Regions from separate parts of the Homo sapiens genome. Here region 1 is linked to region 2. Evidence: promoter capture Hi-C in 16 types of primary human blood cells and fetal thymus (Javierre and others, 2016). All regions are on one chromosome and are shown on one strand. Each heading gives the region's core, a stretch centred on a gene start or on the middle of the fragment in contact. The rest is flanking DNA. Distances are from core to core; before and after follow the strand shown.

Region 1 (6,028 bases), core at 1,267-3,766, 960 kb before region 2:
GAAATACTAGCTCCAAAGTTTATGACTTAGAATCTCAGGCAAGTTACCCTCTGTGGGACTCTAGTTCCTCATTGTAAAATAGGATGTTTTGTAACTATGCCCAGCAGCATGGAGAGAGATAACCTAATATATCTTAGATAGATTAATAAGTTATCTTTTCCCAATCTCAGCATGAAATAAAAAATAGCACGTTTATAAAATAACACAATATACTGCTACTCCAACCTTCATCTGTCTCTACCATAGAGCTACTGGGATAAAATGACAGTTCTTAGAGAGATAGAAAACTCCAAGGCAAGGCTCCCCAAGTCTTTTATAATGCCTGAATTTTTCACTTACTGCCAAAAATGTTTTACCAATCAAAGATATTAATAGAATCTGAGTTAATCAAGATCTTGTACAATCACCTCTGAGATTAAGGGGTTACCAGCTGGTAAGTCAGTCAGTCATTTCAACACTACAACTGATTCTGTGACATTAAGTATGAATGTCTTGAAAATAAATGCTATATATATTATATATAAAATTTATATATAATTTCCTTGTAACATTCTTTAAGTAATGATTCTCCACTCTTAAAGCAAAAGGACTTCATTTATATCAAGATATTCAGATTCCCCATAACAGTACTTTTGATATCCACTTATATTAAGAAAATATGACCAAATTCTACCATGCATATAATATTTTATATTTTAATCACAGCAGTATTGAAATACCATTGAAAAATAATAGCACAGTATGAAAGGCAAATTATTTATTAGGTCTTCAGACAAACTTTATAATGGGCACAGTTCCCAAAATGTTCTCAGTCCACAGTTGAAAACTACTGCCATAAATTCTAACAGAAAATTGTAGAATTGTAGGCAATCCAGCTACTACACATTTAAGGATAAAGAACAATTTAGAGAGGCAGGGCTAAACTCTGATTCCATATTGGCTCAATCCTCACTAAAGATAATCACATTACCAAATTTTATCATAAAATCATACAATTTTTATGAACAGAGCTCTACAACATTATATTATGAATTCATTCAATCAAATGGCTTACCCTAACATTTAGTTTAAAGTAGATGACTGCCAGACTTGGTGGTGTGTGCCTGTAGACCAGCTGCTCAGGAAACTGAGGTGGGAGGATTACTTGAGCCCAAGGCCCGAGTAATTACTTGAGGCTAGCCTGGGCAACAGAGCAAGACACATCTCTTTCAAAAAGAAAAAAAAAGTATCTGAATTGAGGGAATAGGGGGAGTTGGAACTTAGTAAAGAGAGAAAGGAGAAGAGGATATGTGAAAAAGGAAAACAGTATGTCCAATGGTTAGTGGATGAGCTTTCAAGTCATGTTGCTAAGGTTTTTACCCAACAACGTTAACTCCATAACTCCTCTCCCTGCCCTATAAACTTGGACAAAGTGATTAACCTAATCCTCAGATTCCTCATTAATGATGGAAAACTAGCCCCTACCTCATAAAACTCTTAAAACTAAATGAGATACGAATGAGCATAAAACGTTTATTTGCCAAGCACTCAACAAGTAAACCTATTCCATACAGAAAATTTTGAAGTTATTGAGCACTTAGAAGTTATTGAATCTTTTAAAGTTATTGAGCCAAGATTATAGTAAAAGAGCAGAAAGCTTAGGCCAGTATAAGTTGGAAAACAGAAATTAAAGAGATGAAAAAGTATAAGAGAAAACACTAAAAGCCAAAAATAAACTTACTTTCTCCTCCAACTCCCACAGAACACGATCCAATGCTCTGATTCCCTAAACTTAAACCAACAGTATATTAGTGCTAAAATAGGATGTGGTTTTAAATAGGCTTCTGTGGGCTAGCCCAGGAACTTAAAACCAGTGTAGTAAAACATGCTCCAAGTTCAAACAACTGTTTTACACACAATCTGGAAGACAACGTATTCAAAAATTAGGGACTGCCTGTTTTTCCTTTTGAAATGAAAAAGTTTGTGAGAAAATATTCTCTAGGAATCCAAATGTAATTCAAAGAAATTATTCAAATTAAATAGAACATGCTGCTAAGTATTAATCCACAATATAAAATCCTGTAAAATAACTGAAAAAATATTTACAATTCAAAGAGCATGATGAATAAGAACTTCTCAATTCTTTCTCAGAATGAAGTACTGAAACCCTTAGAAAACTTCTTCATCCAGACAAAAGTTTTACTAGACATTAGTTTTCACTTTTGCCAATAGGAGCTGAGCTTTCCCTTATCTGCCGCCACGGTCCTGTAACAGACTCAAAGAGCCATCTCTCCATTCTACATGTTTAAAGAATTGTAGAAAGCAGTTTAATGAATGGGAAATGAGGAACAAGTATAAAGGAACATTCCCAATCAGGAATATGAGCAAGGACTTAGAAGATACCACTTCCACTCTAAGCTAAGAAGTCCTTTGTGCCTAAAAATAAGGAAAAATTAAATCACAAGTCACTGGCTGAGCAGTGCCAAAACTACACCTCACCCACCTACCTGCCCAAACGCTAGTGGCAGTGCTTTAAAACAGTGCAACAGAAACAAAAAACAGGACAGCGGTTTTAGGGTCAGATTTAGCTTTAAATCCTGCTCCTCTACAGACTACCTGTTTAATCTTAGACAAATTAATATCTCCATACCTCACTGTCTATGTCTAAAATGATAACAAAACTGACATCATAGAGTTATTACAAAGATCTTCTGAAAATATTATAGAGAACACTATACATGGCACATTACAGGCATTGTAATGCTTGACTGTCATTAGGTCTCATTAAACCAATAATATAACTCCATAACTCAGAGCGGTCCAGACTTGCACTACCCAACAGGGTAGTCAACTAGCCAAATGTGGCTACTGAGCACTTGAAATATGGCTAGTCTGAATTGAGATACACCATGAATGCAAAATACATATCGGATTCTAAAGCCTTAATTCAAAAAAGAGCATAAAATATCTATCTCATCAAAAACTTTTATATTGATTATATGTCAAAATAATATTCTAGGTATACCAGATTAAATAAAATCAATTATTAAAATTAATCTCAACTTTTTTATGTTTTAACGTGGCTACTGTGTGGCTTATATTTCTACTGGACGGTTCTGGTCTAAACCATCACTGGTAACAGTTTCAAATGCAAAATGGGATGGAAATTTCATTATGTGCTTCGTATGACTTATCTAAGAGACTGAAGATCCTAATGTACTTTAAATACCTTCTAATTTAAGTACTATTAATATTCACCTATTGCCTATTCATGGGGACACATGTCATCTTCCCACTTTGATAATAACAGTACTCATGGTATCTTACAAACTAGCTGAAGAACGGCATGTGACAAGCCACCTTTCTGTATCAACTGTATGCATTGTCTGTTCTTCACACAGTATTAACAGAAGCTTACTCCAAGACCCATCCTCATTCTTAAAAAATGTTTTTCCGTCTCAAATTCAGTACTACATTTTGGATTAAAGCAATGTAACCCATTTACACTGACTTTCCTATCAGCAAATCTACCTTTTAGTGATCAGCAAGGCTACAATCCAGTTTCAAGTTGTGTCATCACCTGTTTAATATAGCTGCAAAAAAAAACCACATTATTTTTCAGTCCTGGAGATAAGGAAGGCACTAATTATGTAACGTGAAAAGATAACTCCCTTTTATCTGCTCAGACAGCTTGAAAGGTTTAAATACTGATAAGGACTATAAATTTAGCCAACTCTATTACTTATTAACATTACTGACAGGACATGTCATAATGCTGAACATGTGTTGCTTAAACTACTATAGCTGTTAAGTCCTATCTTATAATATTAAAATTACAGTTATATATCACTCCAAATTTCTCCAAAGCATTTCTACAGACATTATCACAGCAGTTCCCTACAAAAATCACTGGCTGGAAGTAAAGTTGATTTTACTATACCCTCATTTAACAGACACAAAAAGCAAGGCCCAGAGGTTGTGTTTATCTTGCTTGCCCAAATAAAGCCTGTAGCTAACGATAAGATAAAGTATAAAAAAATTCTACTGCTGCCTGGTAGTTAATACTGTGAACTCTAAAGTTAGATCTTGGGTTCAAATGCTGGCTCCAACACCTAGTAGCTGTGGGACCTTGGACAAATCACTTGTAACCTTATTCCCTCTATCTTTCCGTTTTCTCACAGACATAGTATGAGTAGTTACCCTCATGAAAATTAAAATAAAATGCTCACACACATTGAAAATTCTCAATAAATGTTTGCTCTTCTCACCTAAGGCTTTAAAATCTGAAAGACGGGACATTTAGAGATGAAATTAAAAAAAAAAAACAAAACACTTCTGTCAAAAGGATAAGAATATTTCTAGAACATCTTGAACCATAATCATAAATGTTCAGATTTTATAACATTTTCATTTTTGGCAAATTCATTCTTCATGTCTCTTCCTTTTTTAAAAATTACTCCTAAAAACCTGCAAAAAATAAAACCTACATTTATTAAAATTGTGTGGTTTTTAAAGGTAGAATTCCCAATTGAGAAAATGGTAATACAGAAAAGGTGAAAGGAATGATCAACACACATTACTTCAATTAGCCAACTATTTCTTTTGTGTATATATACACTGTGATAAGCTTTACCAGATGGTATACTCAAATTTACAGAAACTAATTTTTAAAGTATGTTTCCCAAGTCACAATATATAAATCTGATACACTGTTGCATGGTAACAAAATCCCAATTCTGAAGGCTAGCTAGTGCAGAAATATTTAGGAAAAAGAAGAGAATGCCAGCCAAAGCGTGGGGAGAGTGTCACTCCTATAGTTCTAAAAGGTATGATATATACTTATCTTCTGCCATTACCTGGTACATAGTATAGGTGCTCAATAAATAATCTGGGTGAATGCGTGACTGAATGAATAAATGAGTAGGAGAAACTTAATGTTTCTTCAAATGAACTAAATCAAACAAGAAAGCATTTGTGATCCCATGGGAGATACACTTATAAACTAAGGAAGTCCTTAATAAGGCTGACCAAGGTTCCAAGCCATAGCTCAGAGGCTAGAAGAAGTAGATATCCCAAGATTCCCCTCACCTCCTAATTAATTTCAACAATCCTCTTCATATGCTTTGAAAATTTTACCTTGGTGAATTCCTACAGAGCAAAAGCATCCTTTGTAAGTACAGCATGCTTTCAGGAATTAGCCATAGTCAGAAAATTGTGTGTGTGTGTGTGTGTGTTTGTGTACATACTCAGATATATATGAGCTAACTGAGAAACAAAATTAATTTTCTGCTATGTGCTAAAATATCCATTTGCTACTAAAGGGTTTTTTCTATTCATGTCATATTCAGGGCAGAACAGCAATTGGTGCATACTTACTACCCAATTAGTTCAGGAGAGCTGAACTACACTCTTGCATAGTTTTACAACCAAGCCTTGTTTTTAAACTTTAGCTTGCCATTTGATAGTAACATAGCTGTAAAGATGAATTCAGAAGTCATCTTGCAAAAGCATTTTAAGTAAAAAGCTGTGCAAAAGCACAGAGCAATAAATCTAGCACCCAGGAAAAATTCAGTGGTATAATTTTAAACTATACCTTGACATAAAAGAAAATGAAGACATATGAAAAGTAATTCATGATGGCTTCCATATGATAGATGCATTATTCTATTTTTAGAGATTACCTCTGTTACTATAACTTTTATAACCTTTTTGAAGAGCTAATTTCCTAAGAAATATATTTTTTAAATAATGATATTAAACATGCAAAATAAATTATTAAAACCTAACTTATTTTCTTCCTGGTAAACTCTTGTTTAAAAAAATTTTGGCAATATTGTTAATAAAGAATATTATTAACTATATATATAATATATAATATATAAACTGATGCAGTTTAAAGCATAGATTATTAAAACAGTGAAATCCAAAGGTTACTGCTCAACTATACTGTTACTGGTTCACTTTAAAATCTATGTTAGGGCAGGGCACGGTGGCGCACACCTGTAACCCCAGCACTTTGAGAGGCCGAGGCAGGTGGATTACCTGAGGT
Region 2 (6,553 bases), core at 2,438-4,937:
AGCAACACAGCAAGACTGTCTCTATTAAAAAAAAAAAAAAAAGGATAAGCAATAACAAGTGTTGCTGAGGGTGTAGAGAAACAGGAACCCTTGTACACTGCTGGTGGGAATATAAATTGATACAGCCATTACAGAAAAATAGTATGGAGGTTCCTCAAAAAATTAAAAATAGAACTATCATACGATCCAGCAATTCCACTTCTGCATTTATATCCAAAGGATTACTCACAATAGTCAAGATACAGAAACAATGTGTCTGTCAATGAGTGAAGAGATAAACAAAATGTAGTAAATACAAGACAATGGAATACTTACCCATAAAAAGTAAGGAAATTCTGACATTTGTGACAACATGGATAAACCTGGAGGATGTTACATTAAGTGAAATAAGCCAGACACAGAAAGACTAATATTCTATGACCTCACTTATATGGCGAATCTAAAAAAGTTGAACTCATAGAAGCAGAGAGTAGAATCATGATTGCCAGGGTCTTGGGGGTGGGGAAAATGGGGAGATGTTTATTGCACATTTATCAGCAATTAAAATGTTTCTTTTGGGAGCTAACCTATGAGAATGCAAAGGCATAAGCATGATATAATGGACTTTGGGGACTCGCAGGGAAGGTTGGGAGAGGGGTGAGAGATAACAGACCACACACTGGGTATAGTGTACACTGCTCAGGTGATAGGTGCACCAAAACTCTCAGAAATCAGTACTACAGAGCTTATTCCTATAGAAACCACCTGTACCCCCAAAACCATTGAAATAAAATTAAACAGTTTCTTTTGCTAGTTTGGTAGATGAAACATAGAATATAGTTTATTTTGCATTTCTTTGATTACTAGTGAGGTTGAGCATTAAAAAAGAATTACTTGAGTTTTATATTTCTTTTGGGACTTATATATTCATGTCCTTTTATTCTTGTTGGTTAGTAAGAGATCTTGATATGTTAAGTACATTAAACCTTTGTCTGACATACATTACAGATATCTTTTTCCCAGGATGTCATTTTTTTTTAATTATTATACTTTAAGTTTCGGGATACATGGGGCAGGTTTGTTACATAGGTATACATGTGCCATGGTGGTTTGCTGCACCCATCAACCCGTCATCTACATTAGGTATTTTATACAGTCAAATCAATCTCATCCTTTTTAAGTTCTTCCAATTCTTTTATATTTAGAAGGTCCTTCTCTATCTTTAGATCAATTAGTCACTTGTATTTTTTCTGGTTTCTGGTTTTGTGTTTTACACTTTTTTTTTCTTCAGGAAACAAGGTGACAGTCTATTTTCCCATGGTTAAGCATATTTCCTTCACTACTAATTGAGTATGTTTCTTCCCCACTAATTTATAATGTCACCTTCATTACCTAAGGAATTCTTATATTATGTGGGTATGTTTATGAGTTTTATAATCTCTTTTATTGTCTATTGGTTTTGGTGATAGTACCACACTTTTTTTTGATTACCTCTATTTATTCATCAAGAATCATCACACTCTCCTCCAGGAAGCCTCCTTAATTCTTCCAAAATGGTATGATTGCTCCCTTCACTCTCTGTCTTTCACCTTTGTCATGTTTAAAAATCTGCCTTGGCCAGGCGCGGTGGCTCACGCCTGCAATCCCAGTACTTTGGGAGGCTGAGGCGGGAGGATCACCTGAGGTCGGGAGTTCCAGACCTGCCTGACCAACATGCAGAAACCCCGTCTCTGCTAAAAATACAAAATTAGCAGGGCGTGGTGGCACATGCCTGTAATCCTAGCTACTCTGGAGGCTGGCCTTAGGCAGGAAAATCACTTGAATCCGGCAGGTGGAGGTTGCAGTGAGCTGAGATGGCTCCACTGCACTCCAGCCTGGGCAACAAGACCAAAACTCTGTCTCAAAAAAAAAAAAAAAAAAAAAATCTTCCTTGAAGCTGGGCGCAGTGGCTCATGCCTGTAATCCCAGCACTTTGGGAGTCCGAGGCGGGCAGACCATTTGAAGTCAGGATTTTAAGACCAGCCTGGCCAACATGGTGTAAACCCCAATTCTGTTAAAAATACGAAAATTAGCCAGGTGTGGTGGCACTGGCCTGTAATCCCAGCTACTCCAGAGGCTGAGGCAGGAGAATCACTAAAGCCTGGAAAGCGGAGGTTGCGGTGAGCCGAGGTCATGCCACTGCACTCCAGCCTGGGGAAAACTCCAGCCTGGGGGAAAGAGTGAGACCCTGTCCAAAAACAAAACAAAATAAAACAACCAAAAAAAAAAAAAACTGCCTTGTATCATTGTTAACAGGGTTGATCTTATCCAATTACATTCTTGAGTATAGGGAACAGGTGCACAATACCTATTCATTAAAATTAGATTAGTGGGATTTCCTTTAAAAGGTAGTGATGATGGCAGAACAGCTCTAGTTTGAGAAAAAACGAAAATAGGCAATTCTCTCATTTGTTCAACAAACATGGCTGCGCCGTCCAATATGAAAAGATTATAACTGTAAGTGAACCCTACTGTACCCTAGGGATCTCACCACTTGGGGAAAGAGATATGTAAATATATGCGATTAAATAGTGTGACTAAGAAGCATAAAATAAGTATGCACAAAGAAGAAAGGAAAAAACTATTGAGTAGTGGGTAGTGTTTCAAAGTAGTGGACATACAAGTATGAGCCGGGTTCATGGGGTTTCTTAAATGCCAAAGGAACTTGTAATTATTCTAAATGACAACGTGCACAATTTACATTAATGTATTCTTCATTCTGGCCAGGGGTGGTGGCTCACACCTGTAATCCCAAAACTTTGGGAGGCTGAGGTGGGAAGATTGCTTGAGCCAGGAGTTTGAGACCAGCCTGGCTAACATGGTGAAACCCTGTTTCTATTAAAAATACGAAAATTAGCCAGGTGTGGTGGCGCTGGCCTGTAATCCCAGCTACTAGGGAGGTTGAGGCAGGAAAATCGTTTGAACTCGGGAGGTGGAGGCTGCAGTGGGCCGAGATCTCACCACTGCACTCCAGTCTGGGCGACAGAGCGAGACTCCGTCTCAAAAAAAAAGAAAAAAAAAAGATAACTTTTTAAGGAAGGTTAATGCAGTTTGGGCCAGGGGCTCTACTTATTAGTTGCAGGGCTAACACAGACCCGGGAGAACTAGAACGGGATACAGGTGAGAGTTAACCGGTGGTGTGTGATGTGATGAAAACTAGGCAATGGGAAGGAGATCAACCTTTACCCGTCAGTCTTCTAATCTCAGCAAATCACTTCCATGAGTTGGTGTAGAAGGTGTCAGGGCTGACTAGGGTCCCTGCTGTGAGTGTGGGCACAACTCCAGGCACTTCCCCATCTCCCAGCCGGCCCAGCGAGGTGCCTGGAGAGCCCAGGCCAGATGTTCTGGCCAGGGCTGACGTCACGTTTGCATGACGTCACCAGCGCTGACGAACCACACAGAGAGGGGCCTGTCAGCTCACCTCAGAGCGCAGGCAACTTCTTAGAGCGGGGAACTGGCCGCCTCCTATTCTACCTTGACGGTCCGAATAGTCAGAGCTACAGGAGCCGAAGCGCCGAAGGAGCTCAGCAACCGCTACCTCCCTCTTTCCTTGGCCCTTATCCGCGTCTTCTCTAAGGCCCAGGAGCGGTCCCGGCAGCGGCGCGCTCACGAGTCCGCCGGTGGAGGCGGTCACGCGCACGCACGCTTGTGCGCAAGCCCGTTCCCTCAGAACCCGGAAGTGCGAGGCCGAGGAGAGCCACGTGGGTCGAGCTGGGGCGCAGCTCGCATGGGGGAGTCTATCCCGCTGGCCGCCCCGGTCCCGGTGGAACAGGCGGTGCTGGAGACGTTCTTCTCTCACCTGGGTATCTTCTCTTACGACAAGGCTAAGGACAATGTGGAGAAGGAACGAGAGGCCAACAAGAGCGCGGGGGGCAGCTGGCTGTCGCTGCTGGCGGCCTTGGCGCACCTGGCCGCGGCCGAGAAGGTCTATCACAGCCTCACCTACCTGGGGCAGAAACTAGGTACCTCCGCCCCGCCCCCCGAGCCCCTTGAGGAGGAAGTAAAGGGGGTATATTCCCCAGTCGGCAGTGGCTTGGGTTTCCCGTCTCTGTGTCACTTCTAGTCGCAGGCTCGACTCGGCATTCCCAGATCTCCTCCCACCGTTCCTTTCCTTCCCTGGGCTTCCACAAGCCCCGCCCACCGGCCTGCGCTGCTGATAGATTGGCGAACTGGGTAGATGCTCTTTGCAGGGCTGTGACCCAAACCGAAGGGTTTGCCCTTTTGCCTCGTGCATGGATTGATGCCATAAATGAGAAGTTAACCAAACTATGTCTTCATTGTTTTAATTAGTGACGCTGCAGCCAGAAGAGCAAAACTTTGCAAAACAACCTAGTTCTATTACTGAACACTGTTGTGTGGCCTCTTAAGGTTAAGGCCCGAGAGTCACATTTAGAGTCCTACCCCGTCTTCATAGTCCCCCAATACATATTTAATGACTAAAGTAATAAATGAATATTGGGCAGGAAAGGCAAGAAATATGCCTAACACTAGCAAGAAGAGACTTAAGGGGAAAATGGTAAACACTCTTAGCACTTCATGTACATCTTGCCTCTGAAATAAGATTCAAGAGCTGATTCAACTGATTTTTACTAGTAGAAGCAATAAGTATAAGTAGATGAGAAGGAAATAATAGATGTAAAAGGCATGGAATATGCATACAAAATAATATTACTGCTTAATTATGACAAATAAATATATTTGAATCCTAGGGGTTTCAGAGTCAGTACTTTGACCTGTTTTAGACTCTTCAATTTTCAGAAGCGTGAGGTCTGATGTGAATGAAGGACACGTATATAAAATACAGAGAATAGAAATGTAAAATTGGTGTAGATTTCATTTTGATCCACCCCCCCCCGTTCCCTAACCAGCCCCCTACTTTCCTTATATTGCCTGAAGGTGACCATGTACATCTTATTGAGCTTTCAGTAAACACTCAAGAGACAGGGCTTCCTGAGTTCGTAATTGCTGTAGCAAGTATGTTGATTTATACATACTTATTTAGTATGCTAATTTATTAGCAAAAACTGGTCAGATAGTTTCACCTTATTTTTTTCCTCCCCTTTTTACAATGGCATTTCTCACAAATTTGCAGTTGCTGCTATGGTGTTATTATTCCCCTTTCTATAGATTAGCAAATTATATATGCAGTTATGTTGGGTAGATGATAGAGTCGAAACCAAAATATCTGCCCTTGTACTCTCAGATTGAGTTTGCATTCATATAACTTATTAAAAATGTGTATGAAAATTATAATTTATGTATAATATATACAGATATATGTTTTTTATATATGTGAAAATGGGGTGGATTCTAGCTGTAATACTGAAGGTAGGTAATATTTAGGCAGTTTCAGTTGTTTTTAGACTCCCCCACCTCAAAGAATGGTGACTGATTCAAGTGCCATGATTCTTTGCTTTTTTTTTTTATTAACTTATCCATGGAAATTTGATGAAAGCTGTGTACTTACTCTCCAGAAAAATATATATGTACATATAATTTTGCGTATAACCTGAGTGGGTTCAGTTGAATTTTCTAAAGTCTATTTATTGACTCCATTTAAAAAAATCTGCTACTCTAGTTTTAAGTTGAATGAGCCAGGTTTTTACGTAAACAGAACTGGCTGCCCTGTGTGTAAGAATGTGTGTATAAGATCTTCACTGTCTCTGACTTGGGTTCTGTAAAGTGGTCCTCAATGTGTAAATTGATTAGTTCTGCTTGAACCCCAGCTGGCATGGGTGAGCATGAGGACTATGCCTTGAAACTGACCTATACAACATTTGGTGCTGTGAAACATGCCCAGGCACTGTTACGTTCCTAGGTGGGCTCCTCATTTCTGAGTAAATATTCTGAAAATGGTATATTTAATGCTTCATAACTTATTTACACGTACAGTAAACATAAGTTCCAGAATTTAAATTTTATCTTTGCACATTTTTTTGGGTACTGGAGTGTATATGATATCAGTGTGCTTACAATACGACTACACAATTACCCGGTTTACTATTTTCTTAAAAACTTCAGGAGAAAACTTTCGTGTTGCCATTTAAAACATTCCCATGTTCTCCAACTACTTTGCTCATTAGAACATTTATATAGTTTTCTTTAGAAAGCAAAACAAAAAGTTTATGCGTGCGTTTAAAAAATTTAAAACAATTCTGAAAAGTTTTTTTAGCCTTACTGAGATATAATTGACAAATAAAACTATATATATTTAAGATGTACAACTTGATGTTTTGATGTATATGTAAATTGTGAAATAATCACCACAATCAAGCTACTTAGTATATCCATCACCTTACATAGTTATCTTCCTTCCTTCCTTCTTTCTTTCATGTGTATATTGTGAGAATACTTAAGATCTACTCTCTTAGCAAATTTCAAGTAAAAAGGGAGTCTTTTTTTACCTCTCTTATGGATGGTATTTATTTGAGGCCTTAGCAGTGAATCCTGATTAAAGAAGCAAGCAGGGCCTTTAGACAAAGGATAGACCTTGACAGGGAGCTTTCTTTTCCTGTCTTGACCCTGTTACTGAAAA

The links. The method cuts DNA at HindIII sites, captures the fragments that hold promoters and counts their contacts. A CHiCAGO score of 5 or more calls a contact.
Region 1: a contact is called between a fragment that was not itself captured here and the fragment with the promoter of KICS2 in region 2, in 1 of 17 cell types (naive CD8 T cells). The highest score is 5.4, in naive CD8 T cells.

Annotation. Positions count from the first base shown.
Region 1 is chr12:65,180,175-65,186,202 of GRCh38, reverse strand. The region is part of intron 1 of LEMD3 (LEM domain containing 3); the gene reads right to left. Among named protein-coding and RNA genes, the nearest start is that of LEMD3, 14 kb to the right of the region's middle. The HindIII fragment of the contact is 1,756 bases long and covers 1,639-3,394 here.
Region 2 is chr12:64,219,430-64,225,982 of GRCh38, reverse strand. It overlaps KICS2 (KICSTOR subunit 2), which reads left to right and starts at 3,687. Exons shown (of 3, transcript NM_152440.5): 1 at 3,687-3,980. The coding sequence starts at 3,746. It overlaps LOC124902952 (a long non-coding RNA gene), which reads right to left and starts at 3,634. Exons shown (of 2, transcript XR_007063347.1): 1 at 3,440-3,634. RefSeq lists enhancers at 3,234-3,293, 3,374-3,563, 3,714-3,803, 3,285-3,879, 3,914-3,973 and 1 more. The HindIII fragment of the contact is 7,597 bases long and covers 1-6,553 here.